Linked DNA regions of Homo sapiens: region 1 is linked to region 2. The links are contacts of gene promoters, found by promoter capture Hi-C in human tissues and cell types (Jung and others, 2019). All regions are on one chromosome and are shown on one strand. The core of a region is centred on a gene start or on the middle of the fragment in contact, and the rest is flanking DNA. Distances in the headings are between cores, read along the strand shown.

Region 1 (3,824 bases), core at 1,023-3,522, 450 kb before region 2:
AGATTAGAGGAGAACAAACTGATATAACGATCAGTATAATATGTGATCTGTGAATACTTGGATCTACAAATATGCTAATAACTTTCATAGGCAGAGGCAGGAGGATTGCTTGAGACCAGGAGTTGGAGACCAGCCTGGGCAACATAGCAAGACCCCCATCTCCCCCAAAAATTAGAAAATTAGCCATGCACGGTGGTGCACACCTGTGGTCCCAGCTACTCAGGAGGCTGAGGTGGGAGGAGCCCTGGAGACTAGGACTTGGAGGCTGCTGTGAGCTATGATTGCACCACTGCACTCCAGCCTGGGTGACCCTGTCTTAAAAAATAAATAAATAAAAATAAAAACAGAAGGATATTTCAAAGGATATTTTGGAAATAACTGGACAGATTTGCCTATGGGCTCTATGTCAGTGATAAGATTGTGTTGACATCCCATTTCCTGGGCCTGGCGCTGTGTCCATGGAGGAGAGCGTGCTTGTCCTTGGGAGAGGCAGGCTGAGGCCTTCAGGATGAAGTGTAATGGCATCTGCAGCTCACTTTGAAATGTTTCAGCAAAAAAAATGCTCACCAGGAGTTCAAGAAGATGTCTAAATTTGGCTCGGGGATGGAATTTCACCCACAGAGTATAATTAGAAAAAATACATTTTATGCAAACTCCGCTCTTCTGTGAAGTAAGTGAGTCAAGATGTTCATGACTGGCGGATTTAGGAGCTGAAGCATTTGTGGGTGTTCACTGCACTGTTCTTTACACTTTTTGGTGGGTATAAGAGAGTGTGCACCGCCTTCATGAATTGTCTGGAGGAAAAGATGTGTACGCACAACTCAGGGCCCTGTTTAGGGACGGGGTCAGCTCCTGCCCGCCCATTCCCCTCTCCTCCCAGGCAGAGGCTGAGGATGTGGAGGAGGAGCAGCATCTGAGGCCCCTGCAGGGGGGAGCGAGGAGGGAGCACGGCTGAGGATGTGGAGGAGGGACAGCATCTGAGTCCCCTGCAGGGAGGAGTGGGGAGGGAGCACGGCTGATGATGTGGAGGAGGGACAGCATCTGAGGCCCCTGCAGGGAGGAGCGGGGAGGGAGCACGGCTGAGGATGTGGAGGAGGAGGAGTGGCGTCTCAGACCCCTGCAGGGAGGAGCAGGGAGGGAGCACGGCTGAGGATGTGGAGGAGGAGCGGCACCTGAGGCCCCTGCAGGGAGGAGCGGGGAGGGAGCACTCCAGAAACACTTCCCAAGTCCACGTGCCTGCATCCCAGATTTCCTCTCCCTGGGATGGCTGCTGGACATCCCAAATTCCGCCGAAGCTGATCCCGCACTCTCCCCCACAGAAGGTTCTCCCCACGCAGCCTTCCCTCATCATCAGTAACAACTCCCCTGACTCTTCTCCTCCCCCAGCACCCCTCACGTGCTGAGCTCCACTTCTGGAGATGGAAGAACAGCCCCTCCCTCCACGCCCCCACTGTGCACGTTCCCAGACACCGAAGTCACCTCCTGGTTCTGAGTCCCAGTGGCCTGCACAGTGACCCTCACAAGAGCCCCTCCCTCCACGCCCCCACCGTGCACGTTCCCAGACACAGAAGTCGCCTCCTGGTTCTGAATCCCAGCGGCCTGCACAGTGACCCTCACAAGAGCCCCTCCTCAGCTCGCAGTCCAAGGGACCCGTAAATGTGTGAGCAGATCACACCCCCTCTCCTTCACGCACCATCCCCATCCCACACGAGGGCAAGGCAGAGTCCTCACAAAGGCCTTCGGGGTCCTCTGCAGGTGGCCTCGGTCCACGTGCTAAGATCATCCTGCTTCTCTTCCTCTCACGGGTTCTCCTTCAGCCCCAGGCCTGGCTGCTTCTCGGTCAGTGGGCATTCACCCGCACAGCCCTCTGCCCTGTGCCTCCCTCAGCCTCGCATGGCTGGTGCGTCCCCTCTTTTGGGTCTGTGCATAGATGTCATCTCATGGGGGAGCCTACTGTGACCAGCCCGTGACCACCCACACACCCATGCGTGCACACACACACCCAGACACACAGGGAGACTGCTGTGGCCAGCCCATGACCACCCACACACTCGTGTGCACACACACACCCAGGCACACACACCCTGGACCCATGACCCTGCTATGTTTCTTTCCCCGTAGTACTTTTCTCACCTAGATTATCATTTTAGTCACCTTTTGGTCAATAATTTGTCTCCTCCGATAGAACCTAAGCCCATGAAGATGGAAGACAGGGCAGGTTTTTTACTACGATTATTGTTCACTGGCATAGCCCAACCACGTCGACCACATTGTAAGCTCTTGATAAAAAATAAGAATGACTCCACATGACAGAAAGAGCCACCATGTGGCCATAAGGGACCAAACCACAGACCCACTCAGGCCGCGAGGCATTTCTCTCTCTGCTTTCAGTACTCGATGGCCTTTGACAACTTCGTGAGGATCTCTGAGTTGACCTTACTTGGAATTCACTGAGCTTCTCGGATGTGTAGAGTTATGTATTTCATCTCATTTGTGACTTTTTGGCCATTATTTCTTCAGGTATCCTCTGTCCCTTCCTCACTCTCCTCTCCTTCTGGGTCTCCTATTATGCACAGTTAGGGGCTCGTCAGGGCCCACAGATCTCTCCGGCTTTGCTCATTTTTCTTTATTCATTTTTCTTTCTGATCCTCAAACTGGATAATCTCAATTGACTTGTCTTCAAGTCACTAATTTTCTTTTTCTGCCTGCTCAAATCTGCCATTGAACCTCTCTAGTGAAATTTTCATCTCAGTTATTTTAGTTTTCATCTCTAAAAATTCTGTTTGGGTAATTTTCATAATTTCTTCTTTTTTTTTTTTTTTGAGATGGAGTCGAGTCTCACTCTGTCACCCAGGCTGGAGTGCAGTGGTGTGATCTCAGCTCACTGCAAGCTCTGCCTCCCAGGTTCATGCCATTCTCCCGCCTCAGCCTCCCGAGTAGCTGGGACTACAGGTGCCCGCCACCACACTCGGCTAATTTTTGTATTTTTAGTAAAGACACGGTTTCACCATGTTAACCAGGATAGTCTCGATCTCCTGACTTCGTGATCTGCCCGCCTCGGCCTCCCGAAGTGCTGGGATTACAGGGGTGAGCCACCGCACCCAGCCAGGTAATTTTCATAATTTCTATCTCTTTATTGAAATTCTCTATTTGTTCAAACATTATTCTCCTGGTTTTCTTTCTTTGCCCATGTTAAACCCAATTAAATATGGCCTGAGAAGGACTCCATACTTCTATATTTGAGTACTTGTGGATGAACTGCAACCTAGCTTAACAGGTAGATAAGATTGAAAACCTAACTTAGGAATCTGCACCTGTAACAATAGCTGAGTCTTGGCCAATTCCAGCAGCCATAGTTCAACCACTCACACACTGCTGAGTGTTCAAACTGTGTTCAAATAAGGCAAACACCAAGCTGTGACCGATCCAGCCATTCTGTACCTTACTTCTGATTTCTGTACCTCTCTTCCCTTTTTTTTATCTATAAATCTTCTTCCACCACGTGGCTGCACTGGAGCCTCTTTGAATCTGCTGTGATTCTGGGGGCTGCCTGATGTGTGAATCATTCATTGTTCAATTAAACTCTTTAAATTTAATTCAGTTGAAGTTTTTCTGTTATCACCCACTGTTTCTTTTAGCTCCTAAACATACTTTAAATAGTTGATTAAAGTCTTCGTCTAATGTGTCTGCTTCTTCTGAGAGAGGTTCAGTTGATCTTTTTTTCTTTTCCTTTAGCATCTATGGGCCATAGTTTCTTGTTTCTTTGCATGCCTTGTAATTTTTTGCTGAAAAGTAGACATTTGGAATATTATGATGTAGCAGCT
Region 2 (3,918 bases), core at 162-2,661:
CAACCAGTTCTGTGATCCCACCCAGGAACAGAAGACAGCAAGAGAATCAACTTTGACTCTCCATGGTTTCATCTCCAACCCGACCAATAAGCACTGCCCTCTCCCTGGCCCCCTACCTGCCTAATTATCCTTAGATGACCCATCTCAGGATTTTCAGAACCTGGTTTGAGCAATAAAGCTCCAGTGTCCTTTAGCCAGTTTCTGCATGCAGCCAGTTTCTGCATGCAGCCAGTTTCTGCATGCATTAAACTCTCTATTGCAATTCCCCTGTCTTGATAAATTGGCTCTACCTGGGCAGCGAGTAAGGCGAACCTATTGGGCGGCTACGCCTGAGATCTAATGACAGGCTGCACGTGAAGCCCAGACCAGGCACCTGTCTTACACCACAGGGGGATCCAGTCCACAGAACCAGCGTCCTTCCCTCCTGGAACGGACCTTCCCAAAGCCAGAGGGGCTCTAGGCGGCTCAAACAGGGGCTTCCCGGCTACCCTGGTCCCAGGCGGGACCACTCAGGTTCCTTCTCCAAGCCCCCTAGGCTGCAGGGCAGGCTTCCCTAGGGGCAGGCCCAGGCCTATAGCCCGGGACCCGCATCCCGGGCGAGCTGCACCCTCCCGAGACCTTCCCCATCTGTACAATGGGGACAGGACAAGGCCCAGCAGGCAGGCTGGCGGGGGTTCCGGCGACAGAGGGGGACAGCGGGCGAGCACGACAAGAGCACAGGCCCACGTGCGCACCGGCGGGGAGGAAGTAGCCCGGCGCCCCGCCCGCAGCGCGGACCGGAAGTGCTGCCGTAATCTGCGCTGAGAGTCGCGAAAGCGCTGTTCCCCTTAGTGACCGGCGACGCGGGCAAGATGGCGGCGCTGGGGGTGGCGGAGGCCGTGGCGGCCCCACACCCGGCTGAGGGGGCCGAGACGGCTGAGGCGGTGGAGCTGAGCCGCGCCCTGAGCCGCCTGCTGCCGGGGCTGGAGGCCGACAGCAAGCCGGGCCGGCGGCGCGCCTTGGAGGCCCTGCGGCGCGCGCTGGAGGAGCCAGGCCCTGCCGCCGACCCCACCGCTTTCCAGGGCCCCTGGGCGCGCCTACTGCTGCCGCGCTTGCTGCGCTGCCTGAGCGACCCCGCCGAGGGCTGCCGCGCGCTGGCAGTGCACCTGCTGGATCTGGGCCTGCGCCGCGCCGCGCGGCCCCGCGATGCCCTGCCGCGCCTGCTGCCCGCGCTCGCCGCGCGCTTGGCCGGCCCCGTGCCCGCGCGCCGCCCGCCCGAGGCCTGTGAGGAGCTGCGCCTGGCGCTTGTGCAGCTGCTGGGCCTGGCCGTGGACCTGTGCGGCGCCGCGCTCGCGCCCCACCTGGACGACGCTCTGCGCGCGCTGCGCTGCTCCCTGCTCGACCCCTTCGCCGCCGTGCGCCGCGAGAGCTGCAGCTGCGCCGCCGCCCTGGCGCAGGCCACGCCCGGTGAGCACCCCGGGCCCCGCTCCCACACGCCACCCCACACTCTCACCCCCACCTCCACCTCCGCGGCCCCTCTCACAACCCCCGCGGCTCGGCCCCGCCCCCCTCCACGCCCGCACCCCCCAACATCCCGGACCCCCCATGCGCCGCTTCCCCCACCCGCCTGCCCCAAAGCACCCCGCCCGGCCCCCTCCTCCCACCACCACTGCTTCCCCTGCCTCACGTCCCGCCACCAACGCGCCCTTCAGCTGCTCCCTTGTCCTCTACCCCCATGTACCTGTTTCCTGCGCTGCCACGTGCTCCTTGCCCCGTGACCCCTGTTCCTGCTTGGCCCTCACTCACCTCACTCCCCTGTCCCCTTGCTCCCCGCCTCCACCCTCCACGCCCCAAGCCCCGCCCCCCACCTGCCTGCTCCCTGTGCCCCCTCCACCTGCCTATCCTGTGCCATCCTCCTCCTTGCACGCCGCCCTCCCGCGACCCTCACCTCCCACCCTCCTCCCTGCCTGAGCCCCCTCCACCCCACCCGGGCCCACGAGCCAGCGCTTCTGTCCAGATACCTGGAAACCACCGCAGAAATTCCTGTTAGGCGGTTTGGGGTGGGGTGTGCCCTGATAGCTGCCCCCTTTCCTTCCCTCGGGGGCTTGCAGGACTTGCACCTGGTTGAGGGCACGCGCTTTGAGACTCTGCTCTGGTCATTTCACTTTCTGTCCCATTCATCCTACTCCCCTGCCTTTCCGCTCTGGCTTGGACCACTGTCCTAAGTGGAAGGAGGCCGCTTCTCCCCTCCACTTTATAACGTTCCCCATCTTTTTTAGAGCTCTGATCTGATCCGGTCGTTCCCTTTCCTTAGCTGGCCATTCCTGCAGGGTCTTGCCCTTTCCCTCCCCTGGCTGGGATGTGGAATGATAGCAGGCGCCTGCTTCCTGCTGGCGGGAAGGCTTTCCGAAGGAGGGAACACTGATGCTATAAATCCGTGGGCGGTAGGGAGCAGGAAAGCAGTGAGGGATCTGGCCAGCTCAGGCCGTCCCAGTGATGTCCCAGTGATGGTCTGAATGTAGTGGGAAGTGCAGGGGGTGTCAATAGAAGTGATAGACCCGAGTTCAGGTTGTTAAAAGATCACTGCAGCTGCGTGGAGAATAGATTCCAGAAGTAGAGGAAGAGCTGGACTTGGGGAAATGCCGAGATTTCCACGTTGGTTAACTTTGGATTTCACATGGTCCAGAACTCCTGTGGAGCTTGGGGAAGAACCTTGGGCTGGATGGACATGGCCATTGAGAATTCCTGGCATTTAATGTATTTCTTCTTCATCCTCAACCACTTCCCTACCCAGTCTGTACATCAGCCCCACGAGCTCCCTCCCTGGACCGTAGGTTCCACAGGACAGCACTGTGCCCATCTGTGCCCCAGCCCCAAGCGCAGCCTGCTGGGGTATGTGCTCACTGGTTGCTGTGGGGTGAGGGACTGTGCCTCTGCCTGGAGCATCCCCTCATCTCCAGCACCTCTGGCCTTCCTCTCCCCTGGGTGGGGGGCCTCACCTCTGGTCTCGGTCACACTGGGCAACGGCAGAGAGGTTGAGGCGCTCACCCAAAGTCTCACTGGAATAGCCGTTTCCCAGACGGGCCCCAAGTAGTGCAGAGCTGAGGCAAGAGGCGGCCTGGATGCCAGAGACCCTTTGGTTCTGACTTTTTTTTTTTTTTTTTTTGAGACAGGGTTTCACTCTGTCTCCCAGGCTGGAGTGCAGTGGGGCGATCTCAGCTCACTGCAACCTCCGCCTCCTGAGTTCAAGCGATTCTCCTGCCTCAGCCTCCCAAGTAGCTGGGATTACAGGCGCCTGCCACCTCTTGTTCTGACTTTCTGCGGGGACTTTACAAATAGGAAGTGCAGTGGCTTTGCCTGGAGTGGTGCTGGCCCAGCTTCCTGGAGGAGCCTGGGGTCTCGTCTCAGGTGGGGCTGGGAGTGTGGCCTCGCCTCTGTCTTCTGGGCTCGGCTTCTTTCCTCTGGCCAGTGTCCCCGTCAGGCCTCCACCTTGGCTTCAGCAGGTCCAGGCTCTCTGGTCTTCAGCCACAATGGGTTTGCACCCCCAGCCTTTCCCCGCTGGTCCTCCTAAGCCTCTGGGTTGCACAGGTGTCATCAGGGTGGGACGCTTGTCCCTGAGCCTCTTCCTGTGCCGGGCGGTACAGAGCTCTCCTTGGCAGCCTGGATTGTGTACTGTTCATGCAGCAAGGACCTGGCGTAGGAGAGGAAGGGAGGTGAGGAACTCATAGGCAGGCAGCCGTCCTCTGGAAGCCCACAGAGCTGGGCGAGGCGTGTGGGAGCAGCTCTGGTAACTGGGGGCCTCCCTGTCCCTCAGACCACTTCCACATGCAGTCGGAGTCTCTGATCGGGCCCCTGATGCAGACCATCTCCCACCAGCACTGGAAGGTCCGTGTGGCCGCCATTGAAGCCACAGGCGCAGTGATCCATTTTGGCAACGGG

Evidence for each region. Contacts are between HindIII fragments. The study calls those that stand out against the background at their distance.
Region 1: a fragment that was not itself captured here is called in contact with the fragment with the promoter of PRKAR1B in region 2 in 1 of the 25 tissues and cell types used here (lymphoblastoid cells).

The regions. Positions count from the first base shown.
Region 1 is chr7:271,007-274,830 of GRCh38, forward strand. No RefSeq gene overlaps it. Among named protein-coding and RNA genes, the nearest start is that of FOXL3, 17 kb to the right of the region's middle. The HindIII fragment of the contact is 9,029 bases long and covers 1-3,824 here.
Region 2 is chr7:725,870-729,787 of GRCh38, forward strand. It overlaps PRKAR1B (protein kinase cAMP-dependent type I regulatory subunit beta), which reads right to left and starts at 1,412. Exons shown (of 11, transcript NM_001164760.2): 1 at 1,341-1,412. DNAAF5 (dynein axonemal assembly factor 5) reads left to right here and starts at 830. Exons shown (of 13, transcript NM_017802.4): 1 at 830-1,446; 2 at 3,794-3,918. The coding sequence starts at 852. RefSeq lists silencers at 903-1,102, 1,353-1,402, 1,463-1,572, 1,613-1,692. The HindIII fragment of the contact is 22,808 bases long and covers 1-3,918 here.